5 separate regions of the Homo sapiens genome follow, and regions 2, 3, 4 and 5 are each linked to region 1. The links are contacts of gene promoters, found by promoter capture Hi-C in human tissues and cell types (Jung and others, 2019). All regions are on one chromosome and are shown on one strand. Each heading gives the region's core, a stretch centred on a gene start or on the middle of the fragment in contact. The rest is flanking DNA. Distances are from core to core; before and after follow the strand shown. Region 1 holds the start of NEGR1 (neuronal growth regulator 1). Region 2 overlaps LOC105378797 (a long non-coding RNA gene). Region 3 overlaps LOC105378797 (a long non-coding RNA gene). Region 4 overlaps LOC105378797 (a long non-coding RNA gene). Region 5 overlaps NEGR1 (neuronal growth regulator 1).

Region 1 (3,267 bases), core at 170-2,669:
GAAATACAACCCTGCGACTCGTTAAACCCCTTAACTCTGCCCTGCCTTGACTCGGATGCGCCGATTATTCGGCCTGATAGGCTCAAATGGGTTAAACTGCCTCTTACATAACTGGACCGCCTGGGCTCTACACAATTAAAACACTTGATTGCAGTCTTTTCCCGACTCTACATCCCAGCATGACCCGCCCCGTCCCTCCCAGCGCGCCTGCGTGCCGCGCGTGCACAGGCCCCCGCGCGCACGACACGCTCTCTATCACACACACACTCCATGTTGACCATAAACAATCCCCTACTCACACACACAACTTAGTGTCAACACCCACAGATAAAAGAGGGGCGTCCTGCAATCCATACGGGCCGACCGCCACAAACACGCAAGCTGCTCTGCCGCAAGGCCTTGCACCTCCTCGTGTCCCCGCAAAAAAGCAGCGCCCCGCCACCGTCCCTACCTATTCCCGAGAAAACGCAGAGAGAACTAGTTGGCTGCTCGCTAACTGCAGCGTAGCCACCCAGGCAAGATTAGAAGAAAATAAACAAAAAAACAACTCACAGTCGCCGGCGTCATGATGGCGCCGACCACAACTTGGAGGACTTCAAACTTACGGTGCCTCGAGAGGTAAAACGCACCGGTGAGGGAAGGCAAAGCGCCCCTCAGCTCTCTTCACCCCAGCCCTGACACGGAGACTTTTCTAGCAAAGAATCCCTCTAGCGCTTACGACAGTAAGGAGAGCCTTCATTCTAAGGTGCCTCTCTTTCCCCCTTAGTTTGCATAATTGTGATACAGTTCCTCCTATTTTTTTTTTCGTTGTCTTGCTTTTCTTTTTTTTTTCTTGCTATCTTTTTTCTTTCTTTTTTTATTATTTTTTTAATCCCCCTCCCTTCTCCATCCCCAGTCCCCTGGCGGGGTTGCTAAGGAAACGGCCGCTTGGCAACGCGCGCGAGCCCGGGAGCCGGCGGCCGGCGCAGCGCTCCGCGCTGCTTCTGCTGCTGCTGTTGCTGTTGCTGCTGCTGCTGCTGGGATTGCAGCCGCCGCCGCCGCCGCTCGCCCTGCCTCCTCCCCCGCCGCCGCGCCTCCTCCCTCACTCGCCGGCGCGCTCGCCTCCTCGCTAGATGGTGTGCGAGCCGCCCGAGAATTAGACACACTCCGGACGCGGCCAAAAGCAACCGAGAGGAGGTGTAGTGTGGTGCCAGGGGGAGGGAGGGGAGGGAGGGAGGGAAAGCGAAGAGGAGGAGGGGAGGCAAAAACACCGAAAAACAAAAAGAGAGAAACAACACCCAACAACTGGGGTGGGGGGAAGAAAGAAAGAAAAGAAACCCACCCACCCACCAAAAAAAAAAAAAAAAAAAAAAAAAAAAAAAAATCCTGTGGCGCGCCGCCTGGTTCCCGGGAAGACTCGCCAGCACCAGGGGGTGGGGGAGTGCGAGCTGAAAGCTGCTGGAGAGTGAGCAGCCCTAGCAGGGATGGACATGATGCTGTTGGTGCAGGGTGCTTGTTGCTCGAACCAGTGGCTGGCGGCGGTGCTCCTCAGCCTGTGCTGCCTGCTACCCTCCTGCCTCCCGGCTGGACAGAGTGTGGACTTCCCCTGGGCGGCCGTGGACAACATGATGGTCAGAAAAGGGGACACGGCGGTGCTTAGGTAGGAAGAACGGCGTGCTTTTCGTACTTGTTTCGGTCTATCTTTCTGTCTCTCTTTGAACCCTCTTTGCCTTCTTTATAACACAAGCAATAATGCTGGTGGTGCTCATCATGGAAAGACCACATCCCAAGAATTCCAGGTGCAGATTCTTCCCGGAGCCCCGGCCCGTTTATGCTGGGGCAGGTAGCAAGCTGGACTCGTGATGCTAAAGCACTTTGCCGGAACGCCAAGTAGCCTGGGGATGAGTGAACTGTCAGGTTTAGAAGGAGGGGCAGGTGCCACTTTGAAACTCAATGCACAAGGTCTCTGTTTTACTGTCATGGGGTACTCCTGGAGAGTCTGACAAGTTTATCAGGTTTGTTTCTATTTTACTCCAGCATAAGCGACTCTTTCAAACTGCTGTTCTCTGCTCCCATTTATTTTCCCTCTCACTTGGACACTTAGGCTCGATTTCTTGCTCTTTATCTTTCTTTCCTTTTACCGCTTTCTGTTTTCTTTCTTTTCTCCTTCCTCATTCTCTTATACCATTTTCCCCACCTCCTTGTAACTCTTTTTCCCTCCAATATCTCTTTTCATACCTTTTCTATTTTCTGTTTTTTCCCTCCTTTTTAAAATTTCTTCTCATATTTTCTCATTTTTATCTCCACGACTCTAATTTCTGTTCCTCACATTTAATCCCCTTTCCTCCTCTCTTTTACCCTTTTTTCTTTTTGTCTATTTTTTTTATTCCTCCTTAATGTCCCTATCCTGTGCCCTGTCTTCCCTCTTTTGACTCCCATTTCTCATCCCTCTCCCCATACCGTTTCCCACCCCTGTGGCACACACAGGCATGGTCACTGTTCCCCTCCAGTACCATTTACTCACCCTCATAAATCTTATTTCCATAAACATACTAACTCACATACTCTCACATCCTCACATGCACTGGCACTTCCATGCTGTAAGAACCACTTCCACATTCAGATTGTCTCTCACTGTTTTTAAAAGGCATACTCTCCTTCTCTGTTCCACATTGTCACTCACACATGTGTACACACTGCCTGTCTCACTCGCTGCTCTCACTCTGTCTCTGCTTCTCTCTTTTTCTCTTTCTGTGTCTTTCTATCCCCTTTTTATTCCTACCTTCCTCCCTCCATCAGTCTTCACTTTTACTTATTTTTCTCATTTTCCCTTCTTTCCTCTGAGCTTGAGCTCTGAGGTGGTTTGTCATTAATAAACATCCATACCCTGATTTTACCCCTAAGCAACACTGCAGAGTGGGAGTCTGGGAATATTTTATTTCCTATGAAAATATAAATGGATGATCAGCAAAGCTTAGATCTAAACAAAGCTAAACGCCCTATTCCTTCATTTCTTTCCCATCACCCTCCCTTCTCCCCCTGCCACCCCACCTCACATTTCCCTGAAAGATCTTCTTTTTCTCCACTGGGTGGTAGTTGGCTTGTAAGTCTGGCTTGCACAACATCAGTGTACATGACATGTCTAAGGTGAAAGAGAGTGGGAAATGTTTCTGTTTGAAACATGCAACATATTTAAATTTAATGATGTGGGTGTGGTATATGACTTACACCTTTTGGAACATGCCTATGAGTTCAAATTTGGAATACTATCGTATTTTTTAATATACA
Region 2 (3,737 bases), core at 184-2,683, 380 kb before region 1:
CAAAATCTCACTGTATTTTAATGAACATCTGAATTATGCAATGGAGCAAAACCCTGTCAAGGAGAAATTCTTGTTAGTGCAAAAGGAAAGTGCAGGCCAATACAGATAGTAAATACTGTAAGTTTAACTACATGTAGACACATCTGTGACAAATAGAAAACATATTTCCAGAAGTTCATCTCTTAACAATTAAAAATAAATCTGTCTAGGTTGATTTGACAAGCATCTGAAATACTAGAGAGAAGTATTAATGCAATCGCTAGATTATTTGTCAATAAGAATGTTTTGAGTTGTTATTCACACATTGGATTTAAGAAAGTTGAAAATCTTCTGTTTTATAACTCATTTTGAAAACATTGTAGGTAAATGATGAATAATTATTAACTGAGTAGATAAGTGACTTTAATATTAAAGTCTATATATTCATTTACATACGTATAGTTTTTTCTGCACAAATATTTGAATGTCCACTGTGTGTTAGACACATACTAGCACTGAAAGTAAGAGTGATCAAAATAGAATCTTAATGTCACAAAGCTTATATTCCTAAGAGAGAAAGAGATGATAAATAAACATGTAAATATGGAACTAGTTAATAAGAAATATAGAAAACATAAAAACCTGGTAAGTGTATACATAGTAGAGAGAGAAGAACAAGCACTGTTACAGATAGGGTGGATGGAAAAGGTCTCTAAGAAGTTGTTATTTGAGCAGAAACAGGAATGAAGAGTAAGCCTTGGGCATATGTGAGGGATGAGCTTTAGGGACAGAAGTAACTGCAAGTATAAATGCCTAGAGGCAATAACAGACTTAGAGAAATACTCGTAAGGCCAGTGTGCCTGAAATGCAGCAAGCCATGAAGAAAGTCACAGGCGGTGAAATTAGAGCCATAATCAGGAAGAGCAGCACCAATTTTCAGGCTTCCAAAAGAATCTAGATTTTATCTAAGTGTGATGGGATCATTCGAGAACTTTGAGTAAAAGAGTAACTTGATTTTACTTCTATTCTAAAAGACTCTCTCTGATTTCTACTTGGAGAAAAGGTCATAGTAGTTTGGACAAGGGTGACAGTGAAGCCATTGAAATGAGGATGACAGGAGACTTGGCAGAATTGAATGATGGATTGAATATGGTGTGTGATAGAAAGGAAAGGGCCAGAGGATGACTTGAAGGGTTTTAGTCTAATATATTTATTGGCCAAATAAATGTTTGACATTTTTCAAATAAGAGCTTTTATTTTTTTGTTTCAAATAAATTGATATTAAAATGAAATAGGCCAAGTACAGTGGCTCACACCTATAATCCCAGCACTTTGGGAGGCTGAGGTGGGAGGATCACTTGAGCTCAAGAGTTGAAGGCTAACCTGGGAAACATAGTGGGACCCTGTCTCTACAAAAAAATTTAAAAATTAGCTGGGCTTGCTGGCACCTGCCTGTGGTCCCAGCTGTTCCTGAGGCCAAACTGGGAGGATTGCTTGAGCCCAGGAGTTCGAGGCTGCAGTGAGCCATGATCACAACACTGCACTCCAGCCTAGTGATAGCGTGAGACCTTGTCTCAAAAACAAAAATAGAAAGACAAAACTCACAAAATAAATATAAAACAGAAATAAATAAATATTACCTCAAGAACATAAATTATAAATGAAGCAGTTCTCATGAACCAGTGCCAGGACCAATTCTGCTCTCACTCAGGATGTTCTGACTTAAGGAACCATTCTATTTCCAAGATTTAAGAACCATATCAATCCTCACATCTCCCAAATGTATGAGGAGACTTCAAGAAGTTCTTGGCAAATAGAATTAAAAAATGTAAATAAATAATATAAACTTTCTCAACATAAGCTCCATCAGGCTTAAGACAGCTAAGTGATGATACAAGCCATTCGGTTCATCCTTAAAAACCCAAGGTTCCTGAGAATTTAACCATGTCAATGCAATCTTTTCATATTATTGAATGAAGAAAATTGAGTACTCTTTAAAGATTTTTTAAGATTAGGAAACAAAAAGAAGTCAGTGAGGGCCAAACCAGGACAGTAAGGTGGATGCCTGGTGATTTTCTATCAAAATATTAACAAAATTGTCCTTGTTTGATGAGAGAAATGAGTATGAGCATTGTTGTGGTAAAGAAGGACTCTCTGGTAAAGCTTTTCCAGGCACTTTTCTTTTGGAGTGTTAGTTAACTTTCTCAAAACAGTCTCACAATAAGTAGATGTTATCTTTCTTTTGTCCTCCAGAAACACAAAAAGCAAAATGCTATGAGCATCCCCCAAAAAACTGTTGACATGACCTTTGCTTTTGCTTTGACTGGACCACTTCCACCTCTTGATAGCCATTGCTTTGATTGTGCTTTGTCTTCAGGATTGCCTGGCAAATCCGTGTTTCATCTTCTGTTACAAATTTTTGGAGAAATGGTTCAGGATCTTGATCCCCCATGTTTAAAATTTCCATTGAAAGCCCTGCTCTTGTCTGCAGCTGAACTGGGTGTAATGATTTTGGTACCCATTAAGTGGAAAGTTTGCTTGACTTTATTTTTTCAGCCAGAACAGTGTAAGCTGAACAAACTGAGATGTCTATGGTGTTGGTTATTGTTTGTGCTATTAATCATCATTCCTCTTCAGTGAGGTCATGAAAAAGATGAATTTTTTCCTTGTAAATTGATGTGGATGGCCTGCTGCTGTGGGCTTCATATTCAATATTGTCTAGTCCTTTCTTAAAATGAGTTATCCACTTGTATTGTTTCAGGTTGCTTTAAGGCATTTTCTGCATAAACTTTTCATAAAGCATCAGTGATTTCACCATTCTTCTACCCAAGCTTCACTACAAATTTCATGTTTGTCTTGCTTCAATTTTAGCAGAATTCATGTTGCTCTAATAGGGGCTCCTTTAAAACTGATATCTTATGCTTTTGAGTGCCTCAAACTAGATCTTATTCAGACATGTTATGACAAGTTATTACAAGTTAATCGTGATGCAAAAAAATTGGAACTTCATTCATACTTTTTCCATAATGCACATTTCCATGAACTATGACCCCTCATATGATTTCTTTTCTGAGCTTCAGAATGTGAGTCTTCTTGAAGTTGTCTTAGATATCTTAAAATTATAATGACCAAAGGCAAATTCTTAATATTCTACCACAAATGTGCTCTCCTGAGACTTTATTAATAAAAGTCACTTTCATCCTCCTAGTACTACTACATTAGAAGTCCTTCTTGGTATCTTTCTTCCACATCACTGAGTTCTGTTGATCCTATTTCTAAAATATATCCCAAATGGAACCATTTTTTTCTCTCTCTGTCTGCTTACACTAGCTTTCTCAAAGCCATCATCACCCCATCTGTAAATTACTTTTCTCCCTGCTCCACACTAGCCCTCTGAATAACTTCTCCCTACAGTAATTGGAGCAGTCTATTAAATTTTGATCAACATAGTTTTGATATGGAAGATGAAGTTTCATATATTAGTAACAAATGGTAGTAAAAAATATTCTTCTGCACTTCTGATGCTTCTTCCTATGAAAGGTCATCAATTAATGCAACTCTAGGATTCTCTTCACTGCCTTTGGGAGTGAAATATATTTGAGAAGTTTTGTAAATTTTGAGTAATATCCATCTATGTGCAGCCAAAATCTGTGTTTCTGGAGAGTCAATGTACCTATAGAAATCACAGTTCTCTTTTGCTCTTCCATGCCTTACATCATATGTGGACAGATCATTCCACCTGCTCTAATTCTGTGTGT
Region 3 (3,428 bases), core at 899-3,398, 290 kb before region 1:
CATTCTTTTAGTTATCTCATTTTAATAGTTCTACATAATTTACTATATTTCACCTCCCACATATTTTATGATGTCTATTTACTAGATTAGAATATGTCTGATCTAGTAAATGGATAGTGGAGCTCTCCTGTTATCTTTGTGATATCTTTATTTGCTCATTCAAATCCATCAATTTATCCTGCATACACTTGTTAATAATGTTATTTAGGGCATACTTGTACCTTGTGCTACATATTATCATTAATTAAATTTTTCATTATAAAGTGATTTATTTTTCATACATAATTTTTGTATGTTCATAACTTTTAATTCTTGGTGTCAAGAATATAGTGGTAAACACAATGATAAAAATCTCTGTCTTTATGGAATCCAAGTACTAGGGAAAAGAATTATAAATCATAAACAAGCAATTAATGGCTAAAAATTCATACATTATTTTTAATATAAAATATTAAGTGATAATCCCAAATTGACATATATTATATACTGTCAGGTATTCATAAGTGCTTTGAACAAGAAAAGTAGCAAAGTGAGAGGATTTGAAAGTGACTGGATTGGGAGTGTGTGGGATTATTTTACATAGAGTTATTGGTCAGGAAAGGCCTTTCTAAGAAAGCTTATTTGAATAGAAAACAGAGTGAAATAAAATAATGAGCCATGAAAATTTTTAGGGCAAAAATGTTTCAGACCAAATGACAGCTGGTTCAGAGGATTTGAGTTGGACATGTGCTTAATATGTTGAAGAAACAATAAGGAGATACTTAAGGCAAAGTATGTCAGAGACTAATACTTAGGATTTTATTCTTTAAATGTAATGGAAATCTTCTAGAGGGTTTTGGGCAGAGAAATGATATAACCTCATTTATTCCTGAAAAGGTTCATTTTCTATTGCAGCAGGGAAAAGAACACAGAAAGACAGTTGAGAAAGCTGTTGCCAAACTGCAGGGCAAGATGATAGTGGCTTAGCTATTCCTGGGGCTTGTTTTGTTTCTAGATAAAGGAAGCTCTTAAAATGCGAGACTCGTGACATTTATTTTCCTAGTGCCTAGAAGAGGACATGGTATAAAATAGGCACTCAACAGAATACCTTATGAGTCAATAAAACAATAGAGACTTGACTAGAGTTTTCACCTACAAAGGAAAGCTGAAGACTACAATTTTCTTGAAGTACATTTTGTTATCAATTGTAAAACATGTCAGTACCTCAATACAATAAATGGACATTAAGGTACTGAGTATAGGTGGCTAATCTCCTTAAAAAAATTCACACAATGCAGCACATGAACATTTTAACATGTGAAGGTCTTTTCTCTGATGCACTTTAATATGTCACTTAATATTAAGAGTGATAACCAAAGATGAAAGTATTACTGATGCAGGACAAAAACATGCCATATTTTAAGTCAGTCCCTTTTCATAAGGGTCTTATTGTACCACAGCAAATTTCAAAGAGACCAAGACAGAAGATGATTCTAATGCCATCTCTAGCTGGTTGCCTTTTGACAAAATCTTGAGTGTTCTTATAGGAAGGAAACAATATTTGGTTTGTGCTAGCTAACTCAGAGGGTTATGATGAGAAACCAATATGGTGAAGTATCTGAAGGCAATTTGATAACTTTAATGTACCACAAAGTTAGAAACTATTACTATGCCAACTAATTATCTAAATTTAGTTAATGTGGTACATGTGACAGTGACTTGATTTTCCTGGTACTTTCCATTACTGCTTTATTGCCCTACATATAAGAATATCAAATTTGTTTTCAATCCTACTCACTTTATTTTTATAATTAGTGGCTCCCACCGACCACACATCATCTGGAGAGCTCATTAAAACTCAGATTACTGGACCTCACTCTTAGAGTTTGTGAATCAGTACTTCTGGTTAAGGTCTCATAATTTTCATTTTTAACAAATTCCCAGGTAATGCTGATGCTACTCTTCTGGGAGCTACATTTTGATAACTACTGCTTCTGGGGATAGTGACCATTTAACAGAGTTAATAAAAATGTTTATTTTTTGGTTTGAACTGAAGTATCTCTCAATAAATCTGTACACAGAAATTTTTTGGACTGTATATGATAGCTTCTCACTGACCAAGAAAATAAATGCTTCAAATGAAAACAAGTATTAAGGTAATAACACACAAATTTGAACATTTTGTGGACCAGCATACTCCAATGTGGAAACTTCCTTGCATGAGATAATAGACATGAATCTAAATTCCAAGTGGCAGGGGCAAACCCATCTCTTACTAGAGTTGAAAGTTGAAATTACATATCTATTGTTCATTATATTAAAATCACTGAGGTGTAAAATTATAGGTGCAATATCAAGCACCATGTATTATTGCTTTATTCAGAAAAGTCAAAATCTTTTAAGTATAACTATATTTTTGATAATAACTTTTTCTCTGTCTTAGTTATGTTCAAGGAATAAACTCATCAATAATTTGGAGAGCGGTTGAAGAATTTGTTGGGAATATAAGAAATATTCCACCAAAATGCTTTTGGGGAAGTTTTTCAGCAGTCATAAAGACAAAAGAACCTATAGTGTGACATATGGACAATCTTTTATAGTCCATCCTCTCTGGTTAAAAAAAATCAATGTCATTTAGTGGAATACAATTAAGGTTCAAGAACCAGATTCCATTTCCAAACCCTTTATTTAAATGGTGTATTCCTTACTCTCCTTCTTTCATGGTGTATTATATTGCTATAAGTTAGTGTCAATGACTGCCTTATCCTTTGTACAGAAGCATGGTACAATCCTTCTCTGGCTTCAAATGGGTTTTTACATATTTTCGGAGAGCAAAAAAAACTATACTCCAAACCTCTCCCTGAGTCAGAGCCATCCATGGAGAAAGAGGAAAGTTACCCATCTAAGAATGAAAGAGGAGGGGTGTGAGGTAGAAAAAAAAATTTCATTTTTTCTGTTACACAAACACATTTCTAAAGCTATTGTCTCTACTAAATATGAGTGCTACACATTCCAAAGAAAGTTTGGACCTCCCCAGTACCCAGACATTTATTTGTGTTTCCTGAGTTTATTCAATTTTTCATTATGTCACAATTAACTTGACAATTTACTAAGTCCAAGGCCTTAAAAATGAATCAGGAAAATACAAAGTAGGAGGGCAAGATATGGAAAACTACATTTTGTTCCAAAGAAATGGAAATTCTGTTCCCAAAGAGAGGGAAGAATAGAGCTAAATGATGGTATGAAGAGATCTACTTCTTCTATGTTTGTTTATCTGTGGGGGTGTGGTTGTTTAGCTGTTACCTTGAATCTGGGCCGGAAGATATATTAATACCCAAGATAATTCTGATAGAATGCTGTCACTCATTTTAACACATGCATCTATTTTCCTTTCTGGAGTATTCATGTGTCTGGACACCTAAAACCATTGGCATTTCACAATCCCCAAG
Region 4 (3,328 bases), core at 298-2,797, 320 kb before region 1:
AACAGAAACAAAACAAAACAAAAAACACAATATATCATCATTAATAATAATCTCTTTATGCAGAATTTTAGGCTCATTAGGGCAGGAGTAGAGTTTGTGTAGACTTGGGTTGGAATTTGGCCAGTCCAGAATGTTTGCGTAAAGTAGATAACAGCAGGTCAGTTGAGGACATATGAAAGAGAAGCACTCTTGTAATGGAAAACAATATTTAAGCCTGATAAGAAAAGAGGGAAGCACGATGAGGCTCATGGACAGGGAAAAACTGGGGGCTCCAAAAGTTGAAGACTGGACAGATAAATGTATTTTAGAACAAAAAAAGGAATACTTTTGTTATAACTTCTAAAAATAATAAAGATCTTTTTATCAACTGTATTGAGATTTAATTTACATCACAACAAATTCATTATTTTAAAGTATACAGTCCAGTGATTTTTTAGGATAGATTTGTGCAACCATCACCATTGTCTAATTTTAGAACATTTTCATCACCTCAAAAGAAACCCTGTGGGTATTAACAGTCATTCTCCACTCATTCTCTCCTCATTCCCTGACAAAGATGAATCTAATTTCTGTCTCTATGGAGCTTTTTATTCTGCATATTTTATACAAATAAATACAATATATGGCCTTCATGGTTCATCTGTTACAGTACATATTAATACTTCACTCCTTTTTATGGATCAATAATATTCCATAGTATGAATATACCACTATTTCTTTTTGCATTTATCACTTTTGCATATACCACTATTTCTTTTTGCATTTTTTAAAAGAGCAAAAGCTTGTGCTTCAAATGATCCCTTCAAGAAACAAAAAGATAACTCACAGGGATAAATTTAACAAATTAACAAGAGAAGTGTAAGATTTGTATACAGTACCTAAAAAACATCACTAAAAGAAATTAAGAAAGACCTAAATGGAAGATTTATTTTTATAGGAGACATTTGCAAATCATATATTTAATAATAGACTTTTAACTACAATATATTATGAACGTATGCAACTCAACAATGAAAAGACAAAATTTTAAATGGGAAAAGTTTTGAATAGACATTTTCCAATAATGCTATAGAAATGGCCAATAATATATGAAAAGATGCTTCACACATTAATTGTTAGGGAAAAACAAATAAAAAGCATATTTAGAAACCATTTCATACTCACTAGGATGGCGATAATAAAAAAAGATGGACAATAACAAATGTTGGCAAGGTTGTGGAGAAATTAGAAACATCATAGATTGCTGGTGGAAAATCCAAAATATTTCATCCACTTTGCAATTTGCAAAGCAGTTTAGCAATTCTTCACAATATTAACATAAAGTTACTATATGACCCTGCAATTTCACTTCTAGTTATTTACACAAGATAATTGAAAACACATATACATAAAAATGTATTAATATATATTTATAACAGCATTATTTATAATAGTCAAAAACGAAACCAATATAAAAGAAAAGCAGAAACAACTCAAAGGTCCTTCAACTGATAAATGCAAAAAGAGATAGTGGTATATTCATACTATGGAATATTACTGATCCACAAAAAGGAGCGAAGTATTAATATGTACTATAATATAGATGAACCATGAAGACATGACCGCGCCCGGCCGAGTCTTAAGATTTTAACCCCTACATTTACATCTGTGTGTATTTTGAGTTAAATTTTGTGTATGATTTGAAATTGGGGGTTTAATTCATTCATTTACATGAGGATATACAGTTGTCCCAGGACTATTTATTGAAAAGGATATTAAATGGGCCGGGCACGGTGGCTCATGCCTATAATCCCAACATTTTGGGTGGCCGAGGCAGATGGATCAGCTGAGGTCAGTAGTTCGAGACCAGCCTGGCCAACATGGTGAAACCCCGTCGCTACTAAAAATATAAAAAAATTAACCAGGTGTGGTGGTGGGCGCCTGTAATCCCAGCTACTTGGGAGGCTGAGGCAGGAGAATTGCTTGAACCCAGGAGATGAAGGTTGCAGTGAGCTGACACAGTACCACTGTACTCCAGCTTGGGCAACAGAGTGAGACTCTTTCAGAAAATAAATAAATAAATAAATAAATAAATAAATAAATTAAAGAAAAGAAAAGGATATTAACTTCCCATTGAATTCTCTTAACATCTGTGCTAAAATCAGTTGGCCATAAGTGTAAAATTGGTTATTCATGGACTCTCAATTCTAACTGCATTATTCTGTGTGTCTACTCTTATGGCAATACGACAGACACTGTCTTGATTACTATAGCTTTATAGTGAGTTTTAAAGTGCAAATCCCCTAAATTGGTTCTTCAAGATAGTTTTGGCAATTATGGGCCCAGCCTCTTGCATTTCCACATGAATTTAAAGATCGTTTTGTCAATTTCTGTAAAAAGGAATCTTAGATTTAGACAGGGATTACACTTAATCTGTGGATCAACTTGGTATCACCATTTTAATAATAATAAGTTTTCTGATCCAAGTATATAAAATGTTCTTCCATATATTTAGGTCTTTCTTAATTTGTAATGATATTTTGTAGCTTCAGTATACTAATTGTTCACTCCTCTTTTTAATTTGTCAAATTTATTCCTGAGAATTTTATTCCTTTTGATATTATTGTAAATGAAATTGTTTTAATTTCACTTCTGAATTATTCATTGCTAGTATATATGAATACAATTTTAAAAAAATATTGACTTTGTGTCCTGCAACCTTGCTAAACTCATTTTTAAATTCCAGTTGGTGTGTGTGTATGTATGTGTATCCATGCCTGTATGCGTGTAGTGTGTGTGTGTGTGTGTGTATGCACGTGTTCCTTAGGATTTTGTATCTACAAGATCATGTCATCTGTGAATACGGATAATTTTAATCTTTCCTTGCCTGTTTGTTTGGATGTCTTTTCTTTCCTTTCGCCAAAATGACATGGATCAAACCTCAGATACACTACTGAAAAGGAGGTAGAAAAAGCAGACATCCTTGTTTTCTTTCTAATATTAAAGGAAAAGGATTTAGTTTTTCACCACAAAGTATGATGTTAGCTGTAGGGTGTGTGTTGATAGCCTCTATCAAGTTGAGAATACATCTCTCCATTCCTGCTTTGTTGAGTGCTTTTAAAATAAAACGATCTTGGATTTTTTCTAATGATTTTTCTGCAGCTATTAAGATTATCATGTGATTTTTGTTCATTATGCTGTTAATATGGTATATTAAATGATGGATTTTCATATGTTAATCCAATTTTGCATTGCTGGGATGAATCCCAATTTATTATGTCATATGATTATTTATAGATGTTGCTGGGATAGTTTTGCTGGGCCGTTTGCTGAGGATTTTGTATCTGTA
Region 5 (3,577 bases), core at 1,039-3,538, 440 kb after region 1:
GGCCTAATTTCAATATTTTTGTCTCTGAAGGAATAGGAAAGCCTAAGGAGAAGGAGAGAGACTGGGGAATGGTCAGTCAGTGAAGCAGTCAGAACATATAGAACATTTATTGATTAAGCTTGCCATCTTACATGGGCACTGCTTTTGGTGCCCCAAAACAATTAAAACAATTACAAGAGTAACATCAAAGATCACTGATCACAAATCACTAAAACACGTATAATAATTATGAAAATGCTTAAAACATTATGAGAACTACCAAAATGGGACACAGAGACATGAAATGAGCTCATGCTGTTGAAAAAATGGTGCTGATAGACTCGCTGGACACAGTGTTGCCACAAACCTTCAGTTTGTAACAAATGCATTATCTGTAAAGTGCAATGAAAGGAAGATAATAAAATGAGGTGTGCCTGCATTTCAAAACATTATGTTGTACACAGTAAATATATGCAATTTCTATTTATCATTAAGTAAATATCAATAAACAGTCTGAACAGTTCATCTCAACACAGCAGAGGGGATGAAATGAGGCCTTATTCCCCAGTGTAATAAAATATTCTTGACCTCAGTGCTTCTGACTTGATATCCAAAGCCAACTTGAGTCAAATGGTCTATACTGTGAGATGGGGGGATTTGATTGGAGTGGTATACAGAGTAGTAATGTGAAAAGAAAGAGAAGAATTCATTTTGGAGAGTAAGTACTGTGGGAGAAGAAAACATTGCAATGCTTAAATGTTTAAATATGTGCTATGGTCTGAAAATTTGTGTCCCTAGCAAATTCATGAGTTGAAACCTAATACCAAATGTAACAGTATCAAGAGATGGGTCTTTTAGGAGGTGATTAGGTCATGAGGGTAGAGCCCTCATGGTTTAGATTAGTGCATTTATCAAAGAGGCACAAGGAAGCTTGTTTGCCTCTTCCGCACTGTGAGGATGCAGCAAGAAGGCACTGCCTATAAGGAACAGGCCCTCACCGGGCACAGAGCCTGCTGCCACTTTGATCTTGCATTTCTCAGTCTCCAGAATTGTGATATATTTCTAAGTTACCCATTCTAAGGCTTTTTGTTACAGCAGCCTGAATGGACTAAGACAATATATAGGGTGGTAAAGAAAAGAGAGAACAGCTAGAAAGTAATATGTGTGGAATTTCTGGGTTCTTCAAGGGTATGGGATGAAGTGAAACCAGAGGATGAGAGAGTCAGCTTTACTATTTATTCACATTTTTTCCCCCAGGAAACAATTCCTAGAAAATGTGTCAGCAATCTTTTTACTTCCATAACCTGCATGTGTGTGTGTTTGTGTGTGTGTTTGTGTGTGTGTGTGTGTGTGGGTGGGTGGGTGGGTATTTGTAGTGCTGAAGAACAAAGGAGATAAATCATACAAGTAGTTAAGACCTCTTGTTGAGTTAGATAGATGTGGCTAATCGGACTCCTAGGTACTTGGTATTAGAAAAGGAATCAGATTTAAACACTTCTCTATGAGCAGAATTTTTATTAGGTTGGGGGGGAAACTTGCTTTCCATTCAGCTCAACTTCAGAGGACAGCCCTAGAGTAAGGAAGAGAATAACAACCTTTCTGGCTTCCAGGTTGGCAGGAGAGAGAATAACAGAGGCCCTGGGGTCAGACCACATGATTTAAATCTGGCTCTTGGCTGGGGGTGGTGGCCCATGCCTGTAATCCTAGGGCTTTGGAAGCCTGTGGTGGGAGAATAGCTTAAGCCTAGGAGTTTGAGACCAGCATGGACAACATAGTGAGACCCTCATCTCTTAAAAAAAAAAAAAAAAAAAAAGCCAGGTGCCGTGGCATGCCCTTGTAGTCCTAGCTACATGAAAGACTGAGGTGGGAGGATCCCGTGAGCCCAGGAGTTTGAGGCTGCAGTGAGCTGTGATCGTGCCATTGCACTTCAGCATGAGTGACACAGCAAGAGCCCATCTCTAAATAAATAGATAGATATGTAGGTAGGTAGGTAGGTAGGTAGATAGATAGATAGATAGATCTGGCTCTATTGTCCTTTTTGCTGTGTGAATTGGATCAACTTACTCTCTTTCTACCTCAGTTTTCTCATTTGTTTAAAAGTGGAGATAAGAAGAGTACCTCTTTGTAGGGTTGTGGTGAAAATTGGCTGAATGTTAAGTGTTTAGAATAGGACATGATAGTCAGTGCTCAATAAATATTATTTCTAAGTACTTAGTTTCATTAGTATTACTTAATTTTGGTGATACTTGGTGAAGAAATTGGGGCAGCCTGATTTCCCCTGAGAACAAAAGTCTTCATGGAGTCCATTATGTGGGACTTTGTTTCTTTTTTCTTACCATCTCCTACCCATCTCAAGATCTGATTTTTAAATATAATAATAACTTTAATTACTTATTAAATTGATTATGATTTATGCCTTCTTATTTATGCACAAATTGGTTACTATTTATGCTTTCATATTTATGCACTTATTTATGAAATATATTCTGTGTAGATATATAAAATTCTATAGTTATTTATCAAAAATAAAAACAAAAATTAAGCTACACTCTCTGAGCGCTATGTAGAAATTAACACAGGAAATGTTTCCTTGTGACTGCATACTGTGCAATTAAAATGATGTAAGTCATTATTTATTAAGAACAATTTCTGATTGGTTTGAAAAAGAACCATTGTCTATTATTCCTAACATTAAACCTCTATTTGCCTTGACCTCAGATTAACTCATACTAAGAAAACATTTTAATATATATGTTCAAAACCTGAAATAATTTCTGTCTGCAAATCTGAACTCCTATAGAAGGCACTTTCTTGACTATATCCTGGATAGTCCCCCTGGGCAGGCCTGTCTGTTCAAGGATGTCCACCAGGATGTCTAGGAAGACAAGACAATCTCTGTCCTGGGGTTGGGCCAAGGCCAGTCACCATGTGTTAGTGATCTGACTTCTCTCATTCCTTTAATCTCCAAACTCTTTGCTTCTCTCTTCTACTGAAGTCACCCTGAGCTGTTTGAAAAGGCTGGTGAGAAACTAATTTCTTATCAAGCCTGAGGCGTAGTATCCTGATTTTATGCCATTCCTGCTAGTCTAGATTGAACAATAAAGCAGGAGAACTCAGAGTGGTTTCAATACGTGCAAACGGGTCAAGGACAGCTTCCATGTGAACACTGTTGGCAGGATTGTAGTTTCCTACAAATACTTCCTCTCTTTTCAGCAGCTTCTTCAAAACCTGAAGGATCACCAGTAAGATTTAGGTCATTAAGAATGGCTTTGAAATGCCTTACTGTGGCAAATCAAATGTTATTTTTTCCATTAAAACCATAAGTAAAACTGATTTTGATTCAGTATTATGACCCTCTCTGTTAGGGAACATTAAACACTGTTGTCAGGATCAGGAGGCCCTGATTTGGACACTATGGTGTGATTCAAACACAAGTGTTTACAAAGGAAGGCCCACTTCATAAAATTCTTGCATTCTGCTCTTTTCCCCATTGAGGCATTATGTCTTTGTTAAGGGATGGTTACATCCATAGTTCTCATTAGTTTGATTAATGGTATACCTCTAATAGAGGCTGCTACCTGACATTTGGGGAAAAATA

The links. Contacts are between HindIII fragments. The study calls those that stand out against the background at their distance.
Region 2: a fragment that was not itself captured here is called in contact with the fragment with the promoter of NEGR1 in region 1 in 3 of the 25 tissues and cell types used here (H1 embryonic stem cells, aorta and spleen).
Region 3: a contact is called between a fragment that was not itself captured here and the fragment with the promoter of NEGR1 in region 1, in 2 of the 25 tissues and cell types used here (dorsolateral prefrontal cortex and hippocampus).
Region 4: a fragment that was not itself captured here is called in contact with the fragment with the promoter of NEGR1 in region 1 in 2 of the 25 tissues and cell types used here (H1 embryonic stem cells and mesendoderm cells).
Region 5: a contact is called between a fragment that was not itself captured here and the fragment with the promoter of NEGR1 in region 1, in 1 of the 25 tissues and cell types used here (dorsolateral prefrontal cortex).

What each region holds. Positions count from the first base shown.
Region 1 is chr1:72,280,691-72,283,957 of GRCh38, reverse strand. It overlaps NEGR1 (neuronal growth regulator 1), which reads left to right and starts at 1,419. Exons shown (of 7, transcript NM_173808.3): 1 at 1,419-1,639. The coding sequence starts at 1,464. LOC105378797 (a long non-coding RNA gene) reads right to left here and starts at 1,024. Exons shown (of 6, transcript XR_947506.3): 1 at 553-1,024. RefSeq lists silencers at 983-1,072, 1,173-1,232. The HindIII fragment of the contact is 4,654 bases long and covers 1-3,267 here.
Region 2 is chr1:72,661,970-72,665,706 of GRCh38, reverse strand. The region is part of intron 5 of LOC105378797 (a long non-coding RNA gene); the gene reads right to left. Among named protein-coding and RNA genes, the nearest start is that of LINC02796, 100 kb to the left of the region's middle. The HindIII fragment of the contact is 5,002 bases long and covers 1-3,737 here.
Region 3 is chr1:72,568,598-72,572,025 of GRCh38, reverse strand. All of the region lies in intron 3 of LOC105378797 (a long non-coding RNA gene), which reads right to left. Among named protein-coding and RNA genes, the nearest start is that of LINC02796, 190 kb to the left of the region's middle. The HindIII fragment of the contact is 5,169 bases long and covers 1-3,428 here.
Region 4 is chr1:72,598,060-72,601,387 of GRCh38, reverse strand. All of the region lies in intron 3 of LOC105378797 (a long non-coding RNA gene), which reads right to left. Among named protein-coding and RNA genes, the nearest start is that of LINC02796, 170 kb to the left of the region's middle. The HindIII fragment of the contact is 3,828 bases long and covers 1-3,328 here.
Region 5 is chr1:71,844,139-71,847,715 of GRCh38, reverse strand. All of the region lies in intron 2 of NEGR1 (neuronal growth regulator 1), which reads left to right. Among named protein-coding and RNA genes, the nearest start is that of NEGR1-IT1, 8.9 kb to the right of the region's middle. The HindIII fragment of the contact is 3,547 bases long and covers 515-3,577 here.